3 separate regions of the Homo sapiens genome follow, and regions 1 and 2 are each linked to region 3. Evidence: promoter capture Hi-C in 16 types of primary human blood cells and fetal thymus (Javierre and others, 2016). All regions are on one chromosome and are shown on one strand. Each heading gives the region's core, a stretch centred on a gene start or on the middle of the fragment in contact. The rest is flanking DNA. Distances are from core to core; before and after follow the strand shown.

Evidence for each region. Contacts are between HindIII fragments. The CHiCAGO score rates a contact against its expected background, and 5 or more counts as called.
Region 1: a contact is called between the fragment with the promoter of DENND11 here and a fragment that was not itself captured in region 3, in 1 of 17 cell types (naive B cells). The highest score is 5.1, in naive B cells.
Region 2: a contact is called between the fragment with the promoter of FMC1 here and a fragment that was not itself captured in region 3, in 1 of 17 cell types (total B cells). The highest score is 6.2, in total B cells.

The regions. Positions count from the first base shown.
Region 1 is chr7:141,700,602-141,704,515 of GRCh38, reverse strand. It overlaps DENND11 (DENN domain containing 11), which reads left to right and starts at 2,350. Exons shown (of 9, transcript NM_001080392.2): 1 at 2,350-2,630. The coding sequence starts at 2,363. WEE2-AS1 (WEE2 antisense RNA 1) reads left to right here. Exons shown (of 4, transcript NR_199841.1): 4 at 1-513. The HindIII fragment of the contact is 7,386 bases long and covers 1-3,914 here.
Region 2 is chr7:139,339,510-139,343,664 of GRCh38, reverse strand. It overlaps FMC1 (formation of mitochondrial complex V assembly factor 1), which reads right to left and starts at 2,328. Exons shown (of 2, transcript NM_197964.5): 1 at 2,143-2,328. The coding sequence starts at 2,280. FMC1-LUC7L2 (FMC1-LUC7L2 readthrough) reads right to left here and starts at 2,328. Exons shown (of 11, transcript NM_001244584.3): 1 at 2,143-2,328. The coding sequence starts at 2,280. It overlaps TRR-CCT4-1 (tRNA-Arg (anticodon CCT) 4-1), which reads right to left and starts at 2,965; the gene lies at 2,893-2,965. It also overlaps a transcript of LUC7L2 not described here. RefSeq lists enhancers at 2,088-2,337, 1,785-2,352, 2,608-2,677, 2,708-2,777, 3,088-3,147. The HindIII fragment of the contact is 22,532 bases long and covers 1-4,155 here.
Region 3 is chr7:140,475,511-140,479,488 of GRCh38, reverse strand. MKRN1 (makorin ring finger protein 1) reads left to right here. Exons shown (of 8, transcript NM_013446.4): 1 at 1-329. The coding sequence starts at 145. Among named protein-coding and RNA genes, the nearest start is that of MKRN1, 2.0 kb to the left of the region's middle. RefSeq lists silencers at 254-393, 674-753 and an enhancer at 1-718. The HindIII fragment of the contact is 221 bases long and covers 1,283-1,503 here.

The DNA.
Region 1 (3,914 bases), core at 1,101-3,600, 1.2 Mb before region 3:
GTCAGCTGCGATGAATCCAATGATAATTACATAAATCATTAACAATACTTGATATTTGCCCATCACATTTCTCATTTCAAAGTGCTCATAAAATTGTATCTCATGGGTGGCACTGCCGGCACAACAGAATTCCAAGGAAGGATTACGGGCTAAGTAAATAAAGCCTGGAGGCTGCTTTAAAGCCTAGGAGTCTGTTATTAACCCTTTCCTCCTTTTTGTTTAACTTTTTCTCATGGAAATGTTCAAACATACCAAAAATAGAGAAAATACTATAATGAGTCCTTATGTATCCATAACCTAGCTTCAAAAATTATGTATGGCTTTACAGTCTTGTTTAGTTCATAACTGCAACTTCATTGAGGGTGAGTGCTGGGGTATTGTGAAGCAAATCAGTGACAACATATTTTACCCATGGATACTTTAGTGCCATTAATAAAAACCCCTAGGTTATTCTATTAATTTGAAATCTACTATAAATCTATCTGATGAATAAATCAAACAGATTTTAACAAATTGCTTCTCTTGCCAAAGTTTCCCATTTGCTAGAACTAGAGATTATTCATCAAAATAGCTGTGACAGTAGAAACATACCACTTGTCTACACACACAACACATAGCATACTTAGAATAGGAATAGATCTCTGATTTGATGTCCCAGTAATTTAGAGATTGATGATATCCTACCGATACTTTAAGGAGCAGACATTTTAAAACGATGGTACAGACCCACTAGTCTGACCTTTTCTCTGTTAGTCACAGTTGGGCTGTGGTCATTCCCGGAGTCCCTAAGATTAGAACAGGTAATGGGTCACCTGTGTGACCTGCACCAAGGCCAGCCCCACCGCCCCCGGCCACAGAAATAAGATCTCTCTCTCTCTCTGTCTGTCTCTGTGTGTGTATGTATGTGTGTATGTCTGTTTCTGCCTCTCCCACATCACATACATACATACACACACACACACACACACACACAGTGCCTCACTGGGAAGAAATGAGCAGGTATGGAGGAGACATTCTCAGAGATGGATCTCTACTGTGCTCCGTCTTGACTTATTTGCTGTCAGTGCTCCAAGGGATGAGCTCTGGAGGTCATCAGTAACTTGGTCAAACATCCACAGCTACTTCTTCATCCTTCTGATCCAATCAAGAGATTCCTATGCTGAAGTTTTACCTTTCAGGAAAGGCTGAACTAAATATGTAAATAATGAAAGTAGACCCTGTTCTTGGGGGTAAAATGCTGCATAAGTACATTCTTTATTGTTATATCATAGATTTTAGATTAGAAGTGGCAGCCTAGGGCAGTCATTGATTATCTTCTTAGGGATAGGGGTTAAATCACATTATCATTGCAGTGCTGACGTGTAGGACACGGAGGTTCATAAACATCCCGTGGAGTAGCACCCAGCACATAGCTCTACTGGGTCCTTTTGCGAACAGGCAAACCATGGAGCCTTGCTGAACCCTGGATGAACTGTGTACCTCCTTCTCTTGCCACCTCCTTCTTTCTATTTTAATAGCTATTCCTATTTTTATACACATCTCCTCTTAAAGAGTTACTTAGCTGCTAGATTTACCTCAAGGATTGAGGCATGTAAAATTTATTTTTAAATATAAAATGGGGGTTCACAGAAAACCCCTAATCCATTTCCAAAGCCATCAGCTTTAGAGCTGACTTTCCTCTTTCTCCCCTGAGCAACTTCCTTTTCCTGATCTTCTGAGGGAATATCCCTCGTCCCACAAATGCTCCAGCACCTCCTAATTTAATACCCTCAAGTTGTATATATACCAGGAAATAAACTCATAATCTCCATCCTAATCAGTTTGTAATATAAAAGGAAGAACAAAATTCCCAAACTTTAACCCTATGGCCTTTTCAGTGTTTATTGATGAGTATATTGCAAACACCTGGGTAGCCAGAGCACCTCTGCTTCACTCCTCTGCTTAGAAGCAGCTTCTGCCACACATCCAGGATTATGTAATACATATCTGTCACGGTCCACAGGACCAGCGGACTTTAAAAAATAATGGTGACATAAAAACTCACAGTGGTAGCTATACCACGGAACCCTAGGTGAGAAGGCACCTCCACCCGCACACAGGTGTATGGACGCAAGGATGAACGTTCCGGCCGCACGCGTCCCACACACGGACGTGCACACGGGCGCCTCCGAATAGGCTCGCGGTTCCCGAAGCCGGCTCCGCGGACGCCTGCTCTGGCTCCGTGGGAAAGGCGCCTCCGCGGCGGGGCCCCGGGCAGCGCCAGACCCGGCGGGCGGCGGCGGCGTTGGCGCGGCCAGGCGAGGGGGGTTCCCGCAGCCCGCCCGCCCCGCCCCTCGCGCCCGCGGCTCCGCCTCGCCTAGCCATGGTGGAGCAGGGAGACGCGGCGCCGCTGCTGCGCTGGGCCGAGGGCCCCGCCGTCTCCCTGCCGCAGGCCCCGCAGCCGCAGGCGGGAGGCTGGGGCCGGGGCGGCGGCGGGGGCGCCCGGCCGGCCGCGGAGCCGCCCCGGAGGCGGGAGCCCGAGGAGCCGGCCGCCCCGGAGGTGCTGCTGCAGCCCGGGCGCCTGGAGCTGGGCGACGTGGAGGAGGACCAGGTGGTGGCCGTGTTCGTGGTCACCTTCGACCCCCGCTCGGGTGAGGGCCGCGCCGGGGCCAGGCGCGTGGGGAGGGTCGGGGTGCCCCCGAGCTTTGGGGGCGCGGGGGAGGGGCTCGCTGCGCGCGCACCTGCCCTCCCGGCCCCGCACCCCGCACCAGGGCCGGCCCCGGGCTCCCGGGCTTGGGGAAGGGCGGGGGTCGGCCAGTCCTCAGCTCTCTCCCTCGGGGCGCAGCTGGGTGCTGGCGCGCGGCCTCTCGGAGCGGCCCCGAGGGCTTTGTTCCAGCCCCGCCGACCTCCTCTCCCCTCCCCTCCTCTCCTCTGAGTCCCAGCCCCACAGTGGTGTTCGCACTTCAGTGACAGGGCATCCGGTTTGTGGCCACGTTGGGTTTTGTTTTCTTTTCTTGGGGGCTAGAAGATTTTTCACGTTGTGCGGAGGAAACCCCCCGGGCGAGCGCCCTGAGCTCCCCGCTCGCCCCCCATCCCGTCCCCCGCTCCCCGCTCGCCCCCCACCCCGTCCCCCGCTCCCCGCTCGCCCCCCACCCCGTCCCCCGCTCCCCGCTCGCCCTAGCTCCCCGTCGCTTCCTCTGGGGTAACTTTCCTAGCGGCCAAGTTCACTTTCTCTGACTGCATTATTTTGAGGAATTAACGCCGGGAGCATTAAGGGATGGGGCTGAGGGATTCAGCTGAAGGCTGATTAAAGGAGAAGCCTCCCCGGATAGGCTGTCTTTCGGAGATGCTTGGAGAATTAAAGTCTTATCCCACATAATCTTAGCCTAACCACCCGGCAGGGGGGTGTGCGTTTTCCAGGTGAGAGTCCACGGGGGACAGAAGGTGGAAGAACGACCCTGCGCGCCCAGGAAGCCTTGGAGGGTCAGCTAGGGACTTCTGACTCTGAGAGTGGCTCTGCTGTTCGGGGTTGGGGGAAGGAGGTGTCATCGCAGGAGTCGTGGTGTCAGGGCTTAAGGAAACCCAGGTGTGACTGTCAATGTCTCCAGGGCAGCTGCTGGAGTGTGGAGTGCCTGTTCGTGCGGGAAAATATTGGCTGCTTTCTGGGATGAGGTGGGATGGAGTGGAGAAAAAAAGGGGTTAGGATCTGGAGAAGGGGAATCTGGTATGGCAGCTGATGATGGGTTCCAGGCCGGTAATTTTGGGGTTCTCAGCTGTAGGACACAGGAAGAATGTGGGATTCACTGTGGAGCTCCATTTGCAGGGACAGAGTTTGTGGGGACAATTCAGGCCTTTGTGACTTCTGCTTGTTTCTTTGCCACATTCCATGGCTTTCAAACTCTTTTGACTGATCTATCATGTGAAGTTAATTTTAC
Region 2 (4,155 bases), core at 1,079-3,578, 1.1 Mb after region 3:
CCGCTCCTGGCCTAATCCCCTTTCTCTATTTGAATATCTAGTGTTAGAATCTGAAAACTAGAATGTGTGTGGCTTCTTGGTTTTTGAGACAGGGTCTCGCTCCGTGGCCTATGCTGGAGAGCAGTGGTATGAACATGGCTCACTGCAGCCTTGATCGACTTCTTGGGCTCAAGTGATCCTCTCACCTCAGCTTCCCAATTAGCTGGAACTAGAGGATGGGCCATCACGCCTGGATAATTTTCAAATTTTTTGGAGAGGAAGTCTCACTACACTATGTTGCCCATGCTGTTAGAATGTGGGTTTTAGGATCTGCAGATCATGTTGAAAGCAACATTCATTAGCTGCTTAAAAACAGAATTAATCTGCTTTAATACAAATTTAACTTTTTAGTAATTTAAATTTTATGAGAAATCAACACCAATGTCAAGCATTAACAAATCATAGCATCCACTTCTATTAATATATAAGCCCAAATTTGTGGAATTTGACATGGGAATTCTAGGTTAATGTAGGATAGAATACTGCTCTTGATTCGGTTGAGCCTGAATCATGAGGACAAAAGGGTCAGCAATAGACAGGAAACAGTAAATAGATCACAAGAACCCAAAAGAGATCAAATGAAATAGAACACTGTATTTTCCCTGTGGAGAAAGGGTAGGTTTCTCCCTAATAGAATCCCTTCTCCGGAGGGAAAGGATAGAGAAAATGGGATGGTTATTCAGTTAGCTGTGAGCCTGAAGGAAACAGAAACCATTTCCCCTATGCTCAAGTGCATTCCAGAGTGGTATTTCCAGAATGTACCATGAATTTCAGAACCATTACCAAGTCTCTCTCAAGGGTAATAATGTTATCCCCATAAGGTACAACTATAATCATGTCACCTCCTTAAAAATCTTAGAATGGGGCCAGGTTTGATAGTTCACGCCTGTAATTACAACACTTTGGGAGGCCGAGGCAGGCGGATCACCTGAGGTCAGGAGTTCAAGACCAGCCTGACCAACATGGAGAAACCCCGTCTCCACTAAAAATACAAAATTAGCCGGGCGTGGTGTCGCATGTCGCCTGCCTGTACTACTCGGGAGGCTGAGGCAGGAGAATCGCTTGAACCTGGGAGGTGATCACAATCTTAGAATGGCTTCCCATTACACTTACAATAAAGTTTAAGTTCCTGTTCGGCCTACCACTTCATCTACCTCCACTTCACCCACCACACCTTAGGGCTAAACCACTCTCAACTGGCAATTTTTCTCCCCTTGGGCTTTCAATTGTGTAGCTTTTAAACCTGGACCCTAACCCCAATTTACTTGCTAACTCCAAATTAGCCTTCAGGTCCCTGATTAATTTCCTCCGGAAAACCTTCCCTAACTACCCCTTCTTTATACCCCAGCCCCTGTTGTCTACACCTTGAGCACTTATTTATCCTCAGTACTTTACTGTATGGCTCCTTAGGTGGGCAGCAAGTGTCTTAAGGACAGGACACATGTGCATCTGATTCTTCCTGTTTAGACCAGGTTCCTAGCACAGACCCTAACGTTGCCACCTTTTAAAAACTAGGTGAATTTGAGTTCTAAGATTTTACATTCTGACGTCCGTGGCTCAGAAATTCGACAGTTGATCGTTCTCCCTTTCCCCACATTGCTCAAGGGCAGCAAGTTTCCTTCCCTAAAGCCCAGTTGTTCTTTTCCGCCTCAAAAAGAAATGCTTCTTAGAATAACTTTTCTAGGGGACGGGTGAGGAAATTGTTGGCCAGATGCTGTGGCTTTAAGTCTAGCAACAGTACACCCTTCAACTCCATCTTCATTGTTTTATCCCCAGCATTGAATCCTCCATTCCACTTTCCTGACTGCCCTCCGCAGAGGCAACAGACCAGCCAATGAAATCCTTCGGGACGGGTCCGCCCCTCTGCAGGACAGGCTGACGTCCCCAGAGCGACTCTGCGCCCCCCCCCGCTGGTCCTTTGGTCCCCGAGTTTATGCCAGAGCATGGAGCCTAGGGCCTGGGTTGGTTTGGTCAGAACCAGGGCTCCGTGGGAGGGTTGGCCTCAGAAATGCAGGAATTAAACACCGTGCTCCCCACCCTAGCCCAGACCCGGCTCTTCCTCCCTCCCCAGCACGTAGAGCACCCGGGACATGGCTCCCGTACCCGATGTGCACGGAAAGCCTTCACAAGGTACCGATAGGCCGCGGTGTCGCGATAGGGTCGGCCGGTGGCCGCGCTCAGGTAGCGCAACTCCCGCAGAAGTCCTCGAAAAGTGTGCGACGGGGACCCTAAGGCCGCCATTGTCCTGTCCTTCTCCGAGCGTGGTGCCCAACGGCGTCCTACGACCCTGAAAACCCCTCCTCCGGCCCAGGCGCCTAATGGTACGGTCGGACAGACTACCGACTCCCCCTATCGACTGACGAGCAGTGGAACCGCTCACTTGTCCGTTGACCGAACCTTATTAATCGAAGGCCCAGGGGCGCCGTAACAAAATCAAACGAAACCCGACTGTTAACTGAAGGTACCAGGACCTCTAACCCAGAACAAGGGTTTGGGGAAACAGGGGCTTTTCTTCACTGCGTCATTGAAGATGCCCGTTAGCCGACCAACCGCTGAGTCTCAGGAGAAGCGGGCCCGGCGGGGGGTGTGGGTGTGGATTTGATATGGAACACGCTGAGAAGACATTTTTAAATGATTTATAAAAGGGATATCAAAATTCAACGTATTGACGTCTCCCCAAATCCCAGGGGACCTGCGGCTCAGACAAAGGACATGGGTGTGTGCAGATTCTCGAAAATTGCAGCCCACCAGCTAGTAAAAACACACACACACTTCCCATTTAAAAAAAAAAAAAGTAAAGTTGGCATATTTCGCTTTGTTTAGAAAGGGGAAAAAAGGACAAAAGTCACAGGCCACCCCAGATGGGACTCGAACCCACAATCCCTGGCTTAGGAGGCCAATGCCTTATCCATTAGGCCACTGGGGCTTCTGCAAACGACGCGCTCACACAACATATTCAACTATTTTCCTCTTTGGTACGTCATCGTCACTTCATTTTCGCCTTACCCTATCCCACGAAACCACACCTAGCGCCCACGTGAGGGGTGACGTATGCTGGGAGTTGTAGTTAGAGAACAAAAGTCCACATCACCGCGCCAAAGGCTTTACCCTCGAAACTGCACCGATGCTCCGGACGTTGAACGGGCGCGCGCACGCTTCTGCGTACGCGCTTGCCTGCGCAATAGTCTCCGCGCCTGCGCCGTAGTCCCCGCGCCTGCGCAAAAGCGGGCATGCGCCGTCGCGGAGCACAGCGCGCTGGGCAAATTGGCCGGATCTTCGAGACTCGCCCTCTGAACGTCAGCTCTGGTGGGTTTTTACCGGAAGCAGCCGGACCTTTTCCGGTGTTGCGAATTTCCAGGAGGAGCTTTGCTCCAGCGGCCGTTAGATGGCGCCTGCCGCGGTCAATTTCTGCTTCCGGTTGAAGCGTTGAGGCCATTTCCGCAGGCCGGGCGTGGTGGCGCACGCCTGTAATACCAGTACTTTGGGAGGCCGAGGCGGGCGGATCATCTTAGGTCGGGGGTTTGAAACCAGCCTGACCAACACAGAGAAACCCTGTCTCTACTAAAAATACAGAATTAGCCGGGCGTGGTGGCGCATGCCTGTAATCCCAGCTACTCCGGAGGCTGAGGCAGGAGAATTGCTTGAACCCTGGAGTCGGAGGTTGTAGTGAGCCGAGATCGCGCCATTGCTCTCTAGCCTGGGCAACAGGAGCGAAACTCCATCTCAAAAAAAAAAAGAAACATGTGCCGTGTCCTTTGAATTGGTGCGTCAGCGATAAACATGGGACAGCGGGGAAGTAATAGTACATTGATTAGGAATTAATTTTAAAAATTAGCAGTTCATTTTTTGGTTCTGTTCCTAATTGTATAACGAACAAATCACTTCGGAGTCCCAGTAAACTTACCCTTATAGTATCACAGGGGCTTCCCATTGTCCCTAAGATAAAGCTCAGACGACATAAATTGATCCTCGCTTGTACCTTAATCTTCATCTCTCACTTTTCGCTTATCACCCTCTGCTCCAGGTATCTCCACTTTCATTGTCTCTTCCCCACCACACACCTTACCTGATATTCCCTCTGCCTGAAACTTAACCATTTGTATTAATATGCCTCTT
Region 3 (3,978 bases), core at 144-2,643:
CGACGCGTAGCAGGCGGGGACCGAACGGGTGCCTCAGTGTCCTTCCCCTCCCCTCGCCTGGCCTCGCCGTCCTCTCCCCGCAGCCGGACCGGAACTATGTGATCCCGGAAGTTCCGGGGCCTTTGCTGTGTGGGATAAACAGTAATGGCGGAGGCTGCAACTCCCGGAACAACAGCCACAACATCAGGAGCAGGAGCGGCAGCGGCGACGGCGGCAGCAGCCTCCCCCACCCCGATCCCCACAGTCACCGCCCCGTCCCTGGGGGCGGGCGGAGGGGGCGGCGGCAGCGACGGCAGCGGCGGCGGCTGGACTAAACAGGTCACCTGCAGGTAGGACGTTGCGCGGCGGAGCGCCGGGCGCGGGGAGGGGGCCGCGGGCCAAGCCTGCGGCGCGGGAGGGAGGAGGGCGGCCGGCCTGCGGCTAGAGGCGCGGGAGGGCGGGGACCGGCGTTGTCTCGATCTCTGCAGCCCTCGCGGCCCCCGCTGCCGCCGCGTTCCCCCAGTCACTGCGTCAACCCCCGCTGGGCCGCGGAGCCCTCAGCGCTGTCCGCGGAGGCCTGGCGGTGCGCGATTACTGCGGAGCCGCGGGGCTGCACCGCCGCTTACACTTCCCTGAGCGCTGCCTGAGCTGGCTGCGAGCGCATCGGGGAGAGGTGGGCTGGCTCCTCCCCTGCCGCTGGAAGGATGCCCCCGCCGCTGCCTCCGGCTCCCGGGGCTCGGGAGGTGGTCACTTGAGGCCGGTCTCCCAGCGATCCTCTCCGGGCCTAGACACCCCGCCGAGGGCCCCAGCGAGCTTGCCTGGCTCCCGGCCCTCTCCTCTCTCCGTGCCATCCGTTTGTAACGTCTTTTCACGTCCCTCCGTCCCTCCGCCCCCCATCCTCCGCCCAACTGTGAGAAGAAGCTTTTGTATTTCTTCTTTGTATGTTTGTCGAGGTTGGCGGTGCTGAGCTTTGTCTTAGAAGCAGGCGTTCGGGGGCCGGGGTCGTCTTCTCCACCCGCGGTTTTTTTGAGCTGCAGATTATTACCCTCCCCCAGCGCTATGTTCCTCTTTTGAAATTTACGCATCTTCCGAAGGGAGTGAAAGGGCTCTTCGCTCCCGGAAGAGAGAGAGGTTTGGTTTTGGTTTGATATGCGAGACGAAAATATTAGAAAAATTAAGGGATGGCGGTTGTATGGATGTGTATGGTTGTAAAAAACTACCTAGCTCTACGCAGAAGAGGGCATTTAATTGTACGTTTTTTATTTTCCGGTTTTTAAATAGTGATCAGTAGCGACTGTAAGCTTTTCTTTTTCTATCAGTTGAATAAATCAACTGAAATGCCGGTTTTCACCTGGGTGGTATAATTTATATGCAAGTATGTAAAAATGATTCCTAATTAGAACTTGTAGTATTAAGGGTGAAATTTGAAACCTTCCCAGTCTTTGATGTGATACATTTATCCTGGCGACCTTCGAAGGTCTCTCAGCCTTTGATATGATACATTTAAGGTGTGAAGGATAAGCTTAATTATTTTACATAATGGGATGTAGAAAGCATAAACGCAATTTCAGGTCACTTGTCTTATTCATCGGTGGATTGTAAAAGTGGAATATTGCCAGGAATGATGATTTTAAAGTTTCTACTCATGGAGCAAATTATTTGAATATCTGTTTCCCTTTTACAATGCTACAGTTGATCTATATGTGCTAGTTACATCTTTTAAAAGATTGAAACCGGCCTGTCGGGGTGGCTAGGTCGGCGTGGTGGCTCACGCCTGTAATCCCAGCATTTTGGGAGGCTGAGGCGGGCGGATCGCCTGAGGTAAGGAGTTCGAGACCAGCCTGGCCAACATGGTGAAACCCTGTCTCTACTAAGAATACAAAAATTAGGCCGGGCACAGTGGCTCACACCTGTAATCCCAGCACTTTGGGAGGCCAAGGCAGGTGGATCACGAGGTCAGGAGCTCAAGACCAGCCTGGCCAAGATGGTGAAACCCCGTCTCTACTGAAAATACAAAAAACATTAGCCGGGCGTGGTGACAGGCGCTTGTAATCTCAGCTACTCCGGAGGCTGAGGCAGGGAGTTGCTTGAACCCAGGAGGCAGAGGTTGCGGTGAGCCAATATCACACCACTTCACTCCAGCCTGGGCGAAAGTGAAACTCTGTCAGAAGAAAAACAAAAAAGAAAAAGAAAGAAAAGAAAGAGCTTAGATTTACTAGTTTTTGGGGGTTTTTTGTATAGCTTTTGCTTGAGACAGTTTTTTATTGTTGTGCAGATTCCTTGATAGGTCTGGGGTTTTAGTGTTTGACATTGTTTTCGGTTGTTCTAGGTACCAACATGATCTCTTACTTAAAACTATTTTCTCCTTTAGATAGAGGAATGTCAACTATCATTTTTTTTTTTTTTTTTTTGAGACAGAGTTTCCCTCTTGTTTCCCAGGTTGGAGTGCAATGGTGTGATCTCTACTTACCACAACCCCCGCCTCCCAGGTTTAATTGATTCTCCTGCCTCAGTCTCTGGCATTACAGATGCCTTAGTAGCTGGGATTACAGGCGTGCACCACCATGCCCACCTGACTAATTTTGTATTTTTAGTAGAGACGGGCTTTCTCCGTGTTGGTCAGGCTGGTCTTGAACTCCCGACCTCAGGTGATCTGCCGGCCTCAGCCTCCCAAAGTGCTGGGATTAGAGGCGTGAGCCACCGCACCCGGTCTATGATCCTTATCGTTCACTTTGAGCTCTCTGAGAAGAGTAGGGCCCTATTTTATCTGCAGGGCTTTCTTTCCTCAGTTCCTCAGTTTCTTTCCTCAGTTCCAGTATCATGAACAGGATACTCAGTTACTGAGTATCCTGAGCAGATACTGAGTAAATGCTTGAGTGATGTTGATAAAGTCATATACCTAGAATTACCCACTTTAACAGGAACTTTGTAAGATTCCTCTGCTTTCATTAAAAAAAAAAAAAACAAAACTTGTAAATTACCAAAGACAAAGTACTTAACAGAACACATGTGTATCTTCCTTTTTTTTTTTTTTTTTTGAGATGGAGTGTCGCTCTGTCGCCCAGGCTGGAGTGCAGTGGCGAGATCTCAGCTCACTGCAACCTCTGCCTCCTGGGTTCAAGCGATTCTCCTGCCTCAGCCTCCTGAGTAGGTGGGATTACGCCCGGCCACATGTATATTTTTTCTGGAACTACCTTATTCAATCATTCAGTAAGTAAACATTGCACGCCAGCAATGGGAGACACAATATTAGGTGTTCAAGAGAGTGCAGATGTATGTACTGTATTATAAATAAACATTTTCAATATGTTTGCTAGGTAAACATCACCTAAAGAATCAGGTAGAGGTGTGTTTTAGTGTTTGTGCTCATTTCTCCCTATAGCACATCACTCCTGTATCTAGGAATTTGACTAAAGCTATTTTCTTCACTTAGAAGTTTTGATTAGAATGTTTTTAATTGCTCGGAATCACCTGTATTTTCCTACTGGTTACATTTTTTCTAATGTTTCTCCTGGGGTTTTCATTGTGTTTTATACCTTTCCTCAGAAACTGTGTTATGCTGCCACCACCAGGCTGTTTTTCATATCTTTTATTAGAGCAATACTAAGAAACAGAAATGCTCATTGCATCTGCTACCTTGAGTTACCTTGAGTGTGTGAGGTTAGAACAGTTAATACTTAAAGAGAAGTTGTAATTTGAATTTAGACCCCTCTTTATTAGAGTGCTTCTATAATGGCAGATAAGTGTTCTGGTAGTTGAAATAATACACAAAAAAACAAGTGTTTAATTTTTAATTTTTCAAAAAACTCTTTTCTTGATTTTTATTTGTATTTATTTGTATTTTTTGAGATAGGGTCTCGCTCTGTCCCCTAGGCTGGAATGCAGTGGCAGTGTCTTGGCTCATTGCAGCCTCCACCTCCCAGGCTCAAGCAATCCTCCTGCTTGAACCTCCCCAGTAGCTGGAATTACAGGCACGTGCCACCACCCCAGGCTAATTTT